Regions from separate parts of the Homo sapiens genome. Here region 2 is linked to region 1. Evidence: promoter capture Hi-C in 16 types of primary human blood cells and fetal thymus (Javierre and others, 2016). All regions are on one chromosome and are shown on one strand. Each heading gives the region's core, a stretch centred on a gene start or on the middle of the fragment in contact. The rest is flanking DNA. Distances are from core to core; before and after follow the strand shown. Region 1 holds the start of SLC45A2 (solute carrier family 45 member 2). Region 2 holds the start of ADAMTS12 (ADAM metallopeptidase with thrombospondin type 1 motif 12).

Region 1 (6,794 bases), core at 105-2,604:
TGTGTAATAACGTCTGTGAGAGAGAAGCCATGTGTGTGATCATGTAAAATAACGTGTGTGAGAGAAGCCATGTGTGTGATCGTGTAAAATAACGTGTGTGAGAAGCCGTGTGTGATGTGTAATAACACGTGTGTGAGAGAGAAGCTATGTGTGCAATCATGTGTAATAGCATGTGTGTGTGAGAGAAGCCATGAGTCCGATCATGTGTAATAACGAGAAAAGCCCCATGTGTGATCATGTGTAATAGTGTGTGTGAGAGAAAAGCCATGTGTGTGGTCATGTGTAATAATGTGTATGAGAGAGAAGCCGTGTGTGATCGTTGTGTAATAACGTGTGTGAGAGAGAAACCATGTGTGATCATGTGCAATAGCATGTGTGTGTGAGAGAAGCCATGTGTGATCATGTGCAATAGTGTGTGAGAGAGAAGCTGTCATGTGTAATAATGTGTGAGAGAAGCCATGTATGATCATGTGTAATAACGTGAGAGAAGCCATGTGTGACCATGTGTAATAACGTGTGTGAGAGAAGCCATGTGTGTGGTCATGTGTAATAAAATGCATGAGAAGCCATGTGTGATCATGTGTAATAGCATGTGAGAGAGAAGCCATGTATGATCATGTGTAATAACGCATGTGAGAGAAGCCATGTGTGACCATGTGTAATGTGTGTGAGAGAAGCCATGTGTGATCATGTGTAATAGCATGTGTGTGAGAAGCCATGTGTATGATCATGTGTAATAACATGCATGAGAGAAGCCGTGTGTGATCATGTGTAATAGCATGTATGTGAGAAACCATGTGTGATCATGTGTAATGTGTGTGAGAGAAGCCATGTGTGTGATCATGTGTAATAGCATGTGTGTGAGAAGCCGTGTGTGATCATGTGTAATAGCATGTGTGTGTGAGAAGCCAGGTGTGATCACGTTTAATAGCGTGTGTGTGAGAGAAGCCATGTGTGTGATCATGTGTAATAATGTGTGTGTGAGAGAAGCCACGTGTGTGATCATGTGTAATAGCATGTGTGTGTGAGAGAGAAACCATGTGTGTGATCATGTGTAATACTGTCTGAGAGAGCCCATGTGTGTGATCACGTGTAATAACGTGTGTGTGAGAGGGAGAGAAGCCATGTGTGTGATCACGTGTAATTGTGTGTGTGTGTGAGAGAGAGAGAAAGAGAGAGGGAACAGTACAAAGGAGGATCCCTTTAGAAAAGTATTCCAACGTCTTATGGAGCCAGAGGGCTGATTCACAGCTGCTAATCTCTGTCATGCTTTCCAGCACCACCCCCTCCCTCTCATCATAACTTGTGATCTTAGAGGCAGGAAAGAATTTGAGCCCCTCCCCCAGCCTGACCATCTCTGTTGGTTGCTCGGCCAGGCTCCACGTCAAATCCAGTTTGAAACACAGACCCTAGGACCACGCAGGAGGTGGTGGGCTCGCAGGAAGGTTCCTCTCCCAGTGGCCATGGGTAGCAACAGTGGGCAGGCTGGCCGCCACATCTATAAATCCCTAGCTGATGATGGCCCCTTTGACTCTGTGGAGCCGCCTAAAAGACCCACCAGCAGACTCATCATGCACAGCATGGCCATGTTCGGAAGAGAGTTCTGCTACGCGGTGGAGGCAGCGTATGTGACCCCAGTCCTGCTCAGCGTAGGTCTGCCCAGCAGCCTGTACAGCATTGTGTGGTTCCTCAGCCCCATCCTGGGATTCCTGCTGCAGCCCGTGGTCGGATCGGCCAGCGACCACTGCCGGTCCAGGTGGGGCCGCCGGAGACCCTACATCCTCACCCTGGGAGTCATGATGCTCGTGGGCATGGCTCTGTACCTCAATGGGGCTACTGTTGTAGCAGGTAAGTGGGCTGCACAAGGTGGGCAGACAGGGATATGTGTCTTAGTGTGTACCTCTGCAGGAGGAGGATGTTCATGTGTTTGACCTTTCCTAGAAATTTGTTAGAATTGATCTCTCCTAGGTTACAATGAACTTCCCCTTTGACAAATTTGGCCCAGATTCTGTGGTTGGGGAGCCTCTACTTCTAGAAATATCAAAATAAATATGTTTCATTGTTGTGAAGATTTAAAAATAGGATTAAATTTGTATCTATTTTATTAAATTTGTATCTATTTTATCGAATTGAATATTTTTACATATTTATCAATTGAGTTACTTTTTGAGCCCATTATGCTCTATTTAATACTCTTATCAAATTGACTGGCTGCCAAATAGCTCCATAAATATTTACAATAAGTCACCTGTGTATCCAAATAAGTTAATTCTGTTCATAGTTTTATGTAGAGCGTTTTAATAGGCGTAGGGCATAAGCCCATCAGCTCAAGAGGACCTTTCTGGCATTGCAAATTCTGGACAAAAGCAAACCTGAGGGTAGGCATTTTTTCTAGCCATTAATCAGCTACCAATTAATCAGTAATTGATGGTAGTACAATAAAGTTGCATTGCAAAAAGGATCGCTAAAAATAGCACACATTTGTAGATCATTAACTCTCAAGCTAGCAGAATCGGTGATTATGAGGCAGGATAATCAATTATCATTTGTACATATTTGAAAGAAAGCGTAAATGTACAAATGTAGGATATTTCCAGGAGAATGAACAAAAAGCTGATAAGCATTGTTGACTCTAAGGAGGATTACTGAAGGACAGGAGGTGAGAAGTGGCGGGTAGACTTATTGTTCATTTAATTTTATACTGCAATTTTTAAAACGTGTATATAATCTATGCTATTCTTAAGTTTAAAAAGCAAATGGAAACAAGAGAAACAACAATGTATCTTTTATAGGAGATTGGGTAAACGATTACAGCGTATCCGTAGAATGAAAATCCAGCTGTTAAAAATTGTGAGGAGCTGAAATTATATGAAGAAAGTTGGTTACTGCATCAGTGCTGTTCAAAGATGTGGCCTCTGACCTGCCCCTCAGCATCAGCAGAGACCGTTAGAGATGCAGTTTCTCGGGCCCCCTTCAGGCCCACCAATTGAATCAGAGTCTTGGGAAATGGGGCCAGCAATCTGTGTTTTAACAAGACATACAAGCGATAGTTCAATATGCCAGACTTTGAGAAGCACTGCGTTTGACTACCATTGTACACGTGTGTCTGTATGTGCAGAAGTGCGTAAAAGGAGGCCTTAAAGCCTGACCTTTGCTGGGGCTGGGATTGGAAGCATCTCCCTCAGCTTTTTTAATAGAATTGGAATTGCTTGCGATAAGCATGCATACTTTTTTATTTAAGGAGATATTTTACATACCAGAAATTTCACTAATTAAAAGTGTACAATTCAGTGCCTTTAGTATGTTGTGCAACCATTACCACTCTCTAATTCTACAACATTTTCATCACCCCCAAAATAAACCCATTACCATCAATAGTCACGTCCACTTTTCCCCTATGCACCAGCCCTAAGCAACCACTAATTTACTTTGTGTCTCCATAGATTTGTGTTTTCTGGACATTCGCTTGCATAATTTTTAAAACCTGAAAAAAAATGTAAAGCTATTTTTATTTGGAAAAAAGCAAAATAAAAGCAAGGAAGATGATTTTATGGCAAGAAGTTTAGGTGGAAATTACAAAACGCGGATGATTCTAAAACAGGATTTAGGAGACCAATGTTTATTTTTCTTTTAGCTTTGATTGCTAACCCAAGGAGGAAGCTGGTTTGGGCCATAAGTGTCACCATGATAGGTGTCGTTCTCTTTGATTTTGCTGCCGACTTCATTGATGGGCCCATCAAAGCCTACTTATTTGATGTCTGCTCCCATCAGGACAAGGAGAAGGGCCTCCACTACCATGCCCTCTTCACAGGTAGGGAATATTCCAGAAAGTCTCTCCTTCAGCTCCCCAGACAATGAGGCACTTCCACTAAAGCCATCCAGTGTCTCTACACGTGGAGTTTTTTGAATGAACGGGTCAGCTGATGGGCTGCTCCCGTCATGCGGGCACTGTCTCCCCGTGCATTTCTCTGAACAGTCAGCTTGTGACTAGTGCTGCAGTTTCTGCAAAGGAAGTTTACAGAAGAGCTTTCTTAAGAATGCTTTGTGGAGACAATTACAACTGAAATGGAAAGAAGCCTTGTGGATTGTACTTTTGCATTAGAGCAGAGGATCTCAAGCATCAGCAATGTAGCATCCACATTCCTTAGAAGGTCATTGAAAATACAGTTGCCTGGGCTCCTTCTCCAGTTATTCTGATTCAGTGAGTCTAAGGCGGGGCCCAGACATTTGTATTTTATTTAATAAAGACCCCAGATGATTTTGTGGCAGGTTTAAAAAACAAAAAGAGAAAACAAACCAAGCAAACAAAAAACTCAACGTCTTAGAAATTTCTTAGTTATGTAAAAGGTTGGCATTTCCTCAACCTTGTGGTTTGAAAAAGTTCATGCCAGGAGGAAAATGGGAGCTCTCTTGATCTCTTGGGACTGTTGCCAGCCTACTTTGGTTACTGTTGGTCAATTGTTTAGAGCAATGCTACTCAGAGCACCAGTTAGGACTATGCTAGAACTAGGCATTGAAATATAAGGCGACAGGAGGATCCTGGCCCAAGAGGATTTTTATATCTAAGAGGGGGACTCTATCAGCCCACCTTATTTGATTGTCTTTGTAGCCCAGCCAATGCCTTTATTTATGTTTTGATGTATTCTCTCTCCTTCCATGGCCAGGTAGGTCCATGAAAAGCAAGATTTCAAGTTTTGCTCATAGTTTCTGTCTCTAGAGCTAAGACTGCTGCCTGCCCATGGAAGCCACTGGAGCCAATATTTGTCATTTGAGCAAACATTTGAATAGTTGAAAACATGAAGGAGTGAGGCCGTTGGAGCACAGTTGGTAGATCCTCCTCTGTGTAAGGAAGGCAGAGGGGCAGGAGTGCAGCCCCGTCTGTCACTGGCCCCTGCCCACTATGTCTCCAGGTGTTTAAAGGCACCTAAGACATGGCCAGGGCTTGAGACTTCCCCTGCCTCACCTTTGCTCTTGGCTTCCCTTCCCACTGCACTTTCCACGTGTGTCTCCTCACTCGGGTGCTCCCACCCCGCTGGCGTCCTTCTGTCTCTGGGGTCAGCCCAGCCCATCATACCTGCCCCAGGGTTTGGCATGAGCTCTTGCCCTGCCTGGGACACCCTTCCCCATATAATCCCATAGTCATGCCTTTATTCCACTCAGATTTCTCATCAGATATCTCTCATCAGTGAGGTCTTTCTTGGCTACCGTACCTGGCATAGTATGACCACTCCTCTTTCTCCTCATCCTTATTGGGTTTGATTTTTCTTTCTAGTGCTTATCAATACCAGACTAACTGACTGGCTATTTATTTATCTATCATCTGTCTCTCTCTCTCCTTCTCTTTTTTCTTTCTGGTTGTCTCTCCCATTTAGAACATCAATCCCAGCTGAGCAGACCTGTTGTTTTGTTCTCTGATGAATCTTCAGTTCCTGGAAGTGTCTGCTGCATAGTAGGTGCTCAGTAAATACTGAACAAACATTTCTCAAATACCCCATGTATGATAATAACCATGTATTAGGTATTTTCTCTTACATTATCTCGATCCTGACAATGGCCATGTGGAAGTGGTGTGATTCCCATTTTTCAGATGTGGAAGCTGAGCCTTGAAAGCAGTGGTGTGCTTACAGCTGGCTCATGCTGGCTTCTTGAGAATCAATTGTCAAATTTTAGGAATTCAGTGAACTTGTTGACATCATATTGCTGGCTTGAAACTGGCCATGATGGCAGTATTAAAACTCTAGAAATTGGCAAAGCTATAAATCATGGTTTTTTTTTTTTTCTTGGAAAGCCAGTTGTTAAATATTTACCTGAAGTCCACTGATTGGAGTAGGAGGGGGGTTCGGTGATTAAGTCACTTGCCCATAGTCCATAGCCGGAAAGTCTCATTGAATAGATTCCAACTTCATTTTCCTAACTTGAATCTGACAATTCCTTCTGTTTTATTATAATTTGTTGAAATTAATTACAAGGTCATGGGAGACTTTCTGGCTTTTGAACTCGATATTAAGAGTTTATTGATCTACAGGACATTGGACAATGTGGCCACCACTTCCCAGCTTACAATTGTATTAGATGTGGCTAAAAGACCCATGCTTTGCTGCCTTGACATTAAAAGACAAAACTCTGTGTTAGGGAAACTTTTCCAAGGCCAATACATGATAGTATTGTAAACCAGAATTAAAATTCTAACCCCCAGCTAACTGAAGGACCCTTCCTCTCGGCCAAGGTCATCCTAAAGTAAATCTGAAATACTAGTTTAGGCCATGATGGGAATGGGTGGTTGGACATGCCTCATTATACCTCTGTCCCTTTGGAATTCAAGCACAATTGATCAGCATTAACATTAAAGCAGAGACTTTAAAACTGACAAAACAGACTGTTTGTAGCAATTAGGTATTAACATGATAACATAGCAGGCCCTGAAAGAAATAGAAGTATTTCACCCCAATATACATTTATTTGATATATTTTGAAATGGCCCTGAAAAGCTGTCTCTTATGGGGAAAATCTACCTTCTGTACTCCTCACTCTTCCCTTTCCAGTTATTTTCCTGATTTAGGATAGAATTAACTAAAGTATCTGGCACCTTTTTAAGTCTGATAGGAAACGTTTACAGTCTATTCTCTCTGAAGCCTGCTACATGGAGGCTTCATCTGTATAATAAGAACCTTGGTTGCCACAACCCCTTATTTTAACCCAGACGCTCTCTTCTATTGCTTCCAAGTCTATAGATAACTCTTTCAACCAATTGCCAATCAGGAAATCTTTGAATCTTCCTATGACCTGGGAGCCCC
Region 2 (6,286 bases), core at 2,982-5,481, 93 kb after region 1:
CCCTGATACATTTCATCCTTAATTTCTTCCTGTCTATGGGAAAAAATGGGCACGCTATTCTTCAACTCAGATTTAATCTTTAAGGTTGAATGAAAGAAAAGGGATAGTGTCCATGTGGTTCAGGACCAATATAACACCAGTATGATAATGGTAAGAGCCACAGCTATCAGCTTGGACACTTTTGCCCAGTTGCACCAAAAACTACCATACATTGGCATTTAGTTGGCTAAGTTCCAGAATATAATAGATAAATGTGTCATTATAGGCCTCCCTAATTTCCAAAAAATTCTACAGCATCTCTACCAAGCTTTCAATTGTTATAAAGAATGAGAACAGACTAAGACATTTGATAGTTTAATAAAATTTAGAAGCAATCTCAAACTTACAGCAAAGTTGGAAGTGGAGTTAAAAAAAAGAGACTTTCGTGGTCTCAGTAACTTGAGAGAATTCTTGTGAGATCTGGTTGCAGAAAGATTTAAAAGAAAATAATACATGTGGCAACAGTATTTAAATATGATGTTTGAAGTCACTACTTTTTGAGTTTCAGGTGGAATTAAGGTCTAACTACTCTTGAAAACGTCAGATGAAGATTTTTCTCCCTTCTACCCTTTGACCTGCTTGGGAGAAACACCTTAAAAACTGTAATGTTCAACACAATGATTATTGCTGTGAGATGATGATTGTGGTGTTTAGGCAGAATTAACAGATGTAAAGTCTCTTTTTGTGGCATATTCATTTGTGATTCTTAGGTCCAACTCAGGGTTTTTTGGGCCACTGTCAATTTATTTTTTGTCTTTCCAATGCTAATGACAGCTCCGAAAGATGCATTAAGCTAATTTTCCTTGAACTTCAGCCATCCCTTGTGATCCTAACGGTTTATTAGGAAAGTATGAACATTTTTTATGCCTTATTTGCTAATGAAACAGAGGGAGCTCTTTGTGAGGTATCTTAGATCTTGGGTCACAAATTGCATTTTTACATGGAAAAATACTATAATGAACTAAACTACCACCCAAGGCATTCTGATGATGTCTATATGTCAGTGTTCTAATCCTCTTCACTCTTTGTGGATGAGGACATTACTAGGGGCCTGAAGTAAAACAGACCTATATTTGAATTGACTTAGTGGTTTTGCTACATCTTTTAACTTCTCTGAACTTTAGTGCTTCATCCTGATTTTACTTTCACAGCCACTTAATCCTAGGCAAGTTACTTAACCTTTCAGTGTCTGTTTCCTCATCTATAAAATGAAGATACTAATGGTACCCACATAATAAGTTTTTTATGAAGTTTAAGTAAAGCAATACCCATATAGTCTTTAGCACAGAGCCAAGCATATAGTCAGCATGTAATAAATGCTTGCTATTCTTAGCTATCATTCAACTCTGGAATCTTGCATGGTTTTGTAGTGTTTCCTCAAGGGCAGCATGTTTGTATAAGCTCAGAGGTAGTTTGGATACTATGCAGTGATTCACAGTTCTGCTATCTACAGTGGGCAGGAGAGGTAGTTGGCTTTTTTATTGCTACCAACCTTGGTCACCAAGGGGATTTGTTACCTTTTCTCATTAAGCAGAAGCAAAGTTGAGGAGGATTAAGTCTCTCTACGCTGAGGTAACTCCAAGCTTTGGAGAGATTTTTGTAAATTCTGGAAAGAGTAGGAGGAACGTTAGAATAGTAGCAGAATGTATATTTGTGCTAAGTCATGTTGAGAACGTGCTAAAGTTGGAGACATGAATTGATAGTTGCACAATTAGATGCAATTATGTGAGTTTTTTCAACAGCACTTGGAAACAGAGAGCAGAGAAAATCAGCAGCTAGGGTAAAACAGAGTTAGATTTTGATGAGGAAGATATGAGATGTTGAATGTACTGGTTTAAGGAGGTGGATCAAAGGGTATGACTGGGCAAAAAAGGTGGTGAGTCCAGAGAGATGCTGATTATTAGAAAACCAAAGATGGGGAGATCAAGGAACTAGAAGTTCCTACTAGGCTGAAGATCCGAGGTACTGGGTATAAAGGTTTGGAAGGGCTGGCAGAATACAAAGTGTTGGTGGGATTTTATAATTTTAATATTTCAGTCTTGGTTGACTTATGGATAATAGATATTCCTGGTTATGGTCTTGAGAGTAGATGGGAGAAAGAATAAGGGAAATGCCATTAGAGTTGAAGAGGCTAAACTGTGAAGCCAGAGTGTTCAGTGTATCATCCCTGATATTGGTGGAACTCAGCAGTTCTCCAGAGTTCTTCAGGTTTCTGCCTGAGAGACAAATCTCTTCTCCAGGACCTGGGAGCTAGGAGTGATCTTGCCCTTTGGACAAGATCTTGCTTGCTATTAAAAGGAGCAGCAGGAGAAAAAAAGGTGGAAGAAGAAGAGTGACAGAAGAGTACAAGGAGGAGAGAGAAACAAGGAAAGGGTGAAGGGAAGCAAAGAAGAAGGGGAAGAGGAAGAAAAGAAAAGAAGCAAAAAGAATTCTAGCCCAAAGTTGTTCTTCAATGCCCTTGCAAATGCAGGTCATCATGCCTGTGTTATCTGAATGTCTTTTAACTCCAGTTGTGATCCTGCTTCCTAATGTTTACGTAACAGAAAAAAGGCTCAGAGTAGTTCTTTTACTTGCTTGTGACAACAAAACATGTTCTGTTACACGTAAAGGGGATTTAAGGTTGCAGATGGAATTAAGGTTGCTAATCAGCTGATTAGGAGAGTGTCCTGGTTAACCAGGATGAGTCTAATGTAATCGCAAGGGTCCTTATAAGTGGAAAAGGGAGGAAGAAGAGTGATGTGATGTGAGAAAGACTCAAAGGGCCATTGCTAGCTTTGATGGGGGAAGAGGGCCATGAGCTGAGGAATTCAGGCAGCCTCTAGAAGTTGGAAAAGGCAAGACAACAGATTCTCCCCTAGAGTCTTCAGAAATGAATGCAGCTGTGCTAACTCCTTGATTTTAGCCCAGTGAGACCAGTTTCAGATCAGAACTGTCACATAAGAAATTTGAGTTGTTTCAAGCCACTGAATTTATGGTAACTTGTAACACCAAAAATAGGAAACTAGCATATACCTCTCAAAGTCTTGGTGCCCATGTGTTCCACATCTGAGAGGACCACCTTGCTTTCAGACCACTGAGTTTGCCTTGGAGGCTCTGTCCCTATACAAGGTTGAGTAAGCTGGTATCCCAGAACTCTTGATTAACACATGTGGTTGGCTGGCAGCCAGGGAAAAGTCAATATTGGGGGCCGAATTCTTCCTGAATGGAGTAAGGAGGCCTGTTTCAGCTCAGAGGTGAAAAATCTTGGCTGGATTAGCCCAGTAAATTCTCAAGATGCCTGGCAAGCGTCCTGGATTGTGGCATTCTCTGACCGATGTAAAAGCTTGAGCCTCTGAATGAATGGACGCCCTCTCCAGGGTAGCCAGTTCAGGGAAACTGGGGAGATACCTTAACACCTTCCTGGGTTGACTTAATTCCTGGTTTCCTTTTGAGTGAATGGAGGTGGGCTAGGAAAGATGGGGTTCTAGAATCAGAAGAGCCGCACAGAGATCTGCAGACTCAGAGGGGCCCACAGGCATTTGCAGCAGTCACCTCATTGCACAGCTGAGGGGGCTTGTCTGAGGTCACATTAGCAGATTAGCGCAGCCCATTTCCCTTTGTGTGACTTGGCAAAGAGAAAAATCGCCTATTAGTTTTTCCAGTGGAAGAGAATCCCAGAGCGGTCCGAGTGGGTGAGGAGTCTTGATAGAGCGATGTTGGGAAAAGTTCAGGAACTTGGAGGAGAACAGCAGGGGAGGGGGCAGCGCTGAGCGCGGAAGGATGGAGGGAGTGGGGCCCCCCTCTGCCTCAACTCTGTTCTCCTCATTTTGAGCTTGTATTTAAGCACGCCGGGGGGCTGGCCTGGGGGCCTCTCACTCGCAGCTTCCTCCAGTGCCTCCCAGGGCGGCTCTCCCGGGTCTCCCCTATTTGGCCGGCTCGGCCAGCTGGGCCTGGCGTTCGGGGCGGGGCCGGAGGAGCGCGGGGGTGGGAGTCCGGGAGGAAGATGCACCGAGCGGGCGGGCTGCGAGGCCGCGGGGCATGCGGGAGGCGGAGGGGTGGGGACCGGGGTGGGCTGCGCCCTCCCGCTCTGGCCCATTCCACACCCCGCCGAAAGCGGACACTGTCAGCTGAATCACTCCCCTTTTAGGAGGAGGGAGGGGAAAAAGGTGTCTAGCTCCTTTCTGCTTAAAAAAGCACAGGGAGATCGCGGGCAGCTTTGCAGTCGCTGCCTTCTCGCGCCTGACCATGCACCCCTGCATCTTCCTGCTGGGCCACAGGCGAGCGCTTTATTTCTGGAGCTGAGGGCTAAAACTTTTTTGACTTTTCTTCTCCTCAACATCTGAATCATGCCATGTGCCCAGAGGAGCTGGCTTGCAAACCTTTCCGTGGTGGCTCAGCTCCTTAACTTTGGGGCGCTTTGCTATGGGAGACAGCCTCAGCCAGGCCCGGTTCGCTTCCCGGACAGGAGGCAAGGTTAGTGACTCTTCTTTATTTCTTTTTAAAACAGTGGTGGTAAGACTTGCGGGAATTTTGTTGCTCCCCTTTCCCTTCCCCCACCCGGCAGAACTGAACTCTGAAAAGCCATTTGGCTGCGTTGTAAGGAAATCTGGGCTGGGACCTCAGGAGCCTAGGCTTTCTCAGAATTCAGTGCTTAAGGTGATGAGTCCTTCATTCTTATAGAAAGGTGAGTACCTCACTCTTTTACAGGGATGACACTGCAGTCTTTGAAAGACCCAAGAGGTAGCTGGTAACTTTTTCTCTTTTGTCTCCTCTTTGAATGCTGTACTGTTTTGATCCCCTATTTTTCAGACTCTAAACATGGAAAATTTTTTTTTTAAGTGCTAACTGGCTACTGGCCGTCATTGCAGTGTTTCTAGTTAGTTTTAAACCTCTGGTCAGGAAAGGGGAAATGTGATTCTTCCCCCCTACTGAGCAGGCTTGGCTGTGTTTTGGTTTCCTGGAAAGATTTAGGGTTGTATTTTTGAAAGAATAGTCCTTTTGGGGGAACTATACCTCCATAAGGGCTCACTTTTTCCTGTCCTGTCTCACTGACCACAGCTGGCTGCTTCTCTTTATGAATTTCTGAACTCATGTTATTGTAGGAAGCATTGGAAGCGTTCTGGTGGACAATTTGTTGTTGTTGTTTTATTCTTTTAAGCCTAACAGTCAGCAGTTTATTGGACTTGGAAGGGTCAGAGGCACCTTCATGTTTGGTGGGGGGTTCATTGTACCTCTGGGGGTAAACAGTCCTAGCAGCAGCAATGGCCCGCGTGGCACTCTGTGTCAGCCCATCCGATCACTGGCAATAGCCTTCCAGGGTGCAGGTACCAGTGTTGCTGTCCCTGCTGTACAGATGAGGATGCTGCAGCTTGGAGAGCTTATGAGGCCAGCTAATGTAGAGCAGAGTTTTCAGCTCAGGTAGTCTGACTCTTAGAATCATGCAGCACTGTCCTGTAGCAATAATAGGGACACACACGCACACACACACGCATATGCACCCACACGCATGCACACGCACACAGAGCACTGGGTTAGCATGCACTAAGTCCTGTGTTTGCTGACTGTGCTGAAGCCTCGGGAAGTGTCCTCCATGACTTTCTGACATCCCTTTAATTCCCAAGGCCACTCGGGTGATAAACATCACCAGCCTGTCCTTGTTTAGGATTTCTAAGCAGGGTTTTCTGCTCATGTTGTAAAATTCAAATATTGCTGGACAACTCATCTGCTGTGGCTTCAAGACGTATCAGAAGCAAGTCCCTCTCTTTGCTTTACTTGGAAAGCTGGAGCCAGCAAACACTGGGGTTAGATGTCAGTCAGCCAGCACTCACTTGTGTAAACGGTCCAGATACAATCTCCCACCCCCAAGTTTAAAATAGCAGGGCTTGTTGTTCTTTGAAAAACAGTTCCTTTGTGAAAAGTCTCCCTTCTGGGGCAGCACAAACAAAGCCTGCAAGCACTTCCCAGGGCATTTGGAGATGATTTCGTTCAAAGACACACATTCTCCTGGGTTGGTTTTCAGCTCTGCTCCACATCTTCTTTGTAAGGGAATTCAGCTTGGTGTGAAGCAGACACCACGGGGCCATGGTTTTTGCTCTCTGGAAAGTGAGATATGATTATTTTCCCTAGTCACCTCTATCTAGAGCTATGTGCTGAGAGTATCCACTGTTCAAAAAACCTATAAAGTGCTCCAAGCTTATTGGTGATATATATATTTATTTAGGTTTAAAAATAATTAGAGGTTTTTGTTTTTCGAGGCTGAGTCTTGCTC

Evidence for each region. Contacts are between HindIII fragments. The CHiCAGO score rates a contact against its expected background, and 5 or more counts as called.
Region 2: a contact is called between the fragment with the promoter of ADAMTS12 here and the fragment with the promoter of SLC45A2 in region 1, in 8 of 17 cell types (total CD4 T cells, naive CD8 T cells, neutrophils and 5 more). The highest score is 7.3, in total CD4 T cells.

What each region holds. Positions count from the first base shown.
Region 1 is chr5:33,979,253-33,986,046 of GRCh38, reverse strand. SLC45A2 (solute carrier family 45 member 2) reads left to right here and starts at 1,354. Exons shown (of 7, transcript NM_016180.5): 1 at 1,354-1,848; 2 at 3,635-3,811. The coding sequence starts at 1,464. The HindIII fragment of the contact is 8,753 bases long and covers 1-6,794 here.
Region 2 is chr5:33,889,935-33,896,220 of GRCh38, reverse strand. ADAMTS12 (ADAM metallopeptidase with thrombospondin type 1 motif 12) reads left to right here and starts at 4,231. Exons shown (of 24, transcript NM_030955.4): 1 at 4,231-4,491. The coding sequence starts at 4,365. RefSeq lists enhancers at 3,948-4,447, 4,448-4,949. The HindIII fragment of the contact is 2,849 bases long and covers 3,364-6,212 here.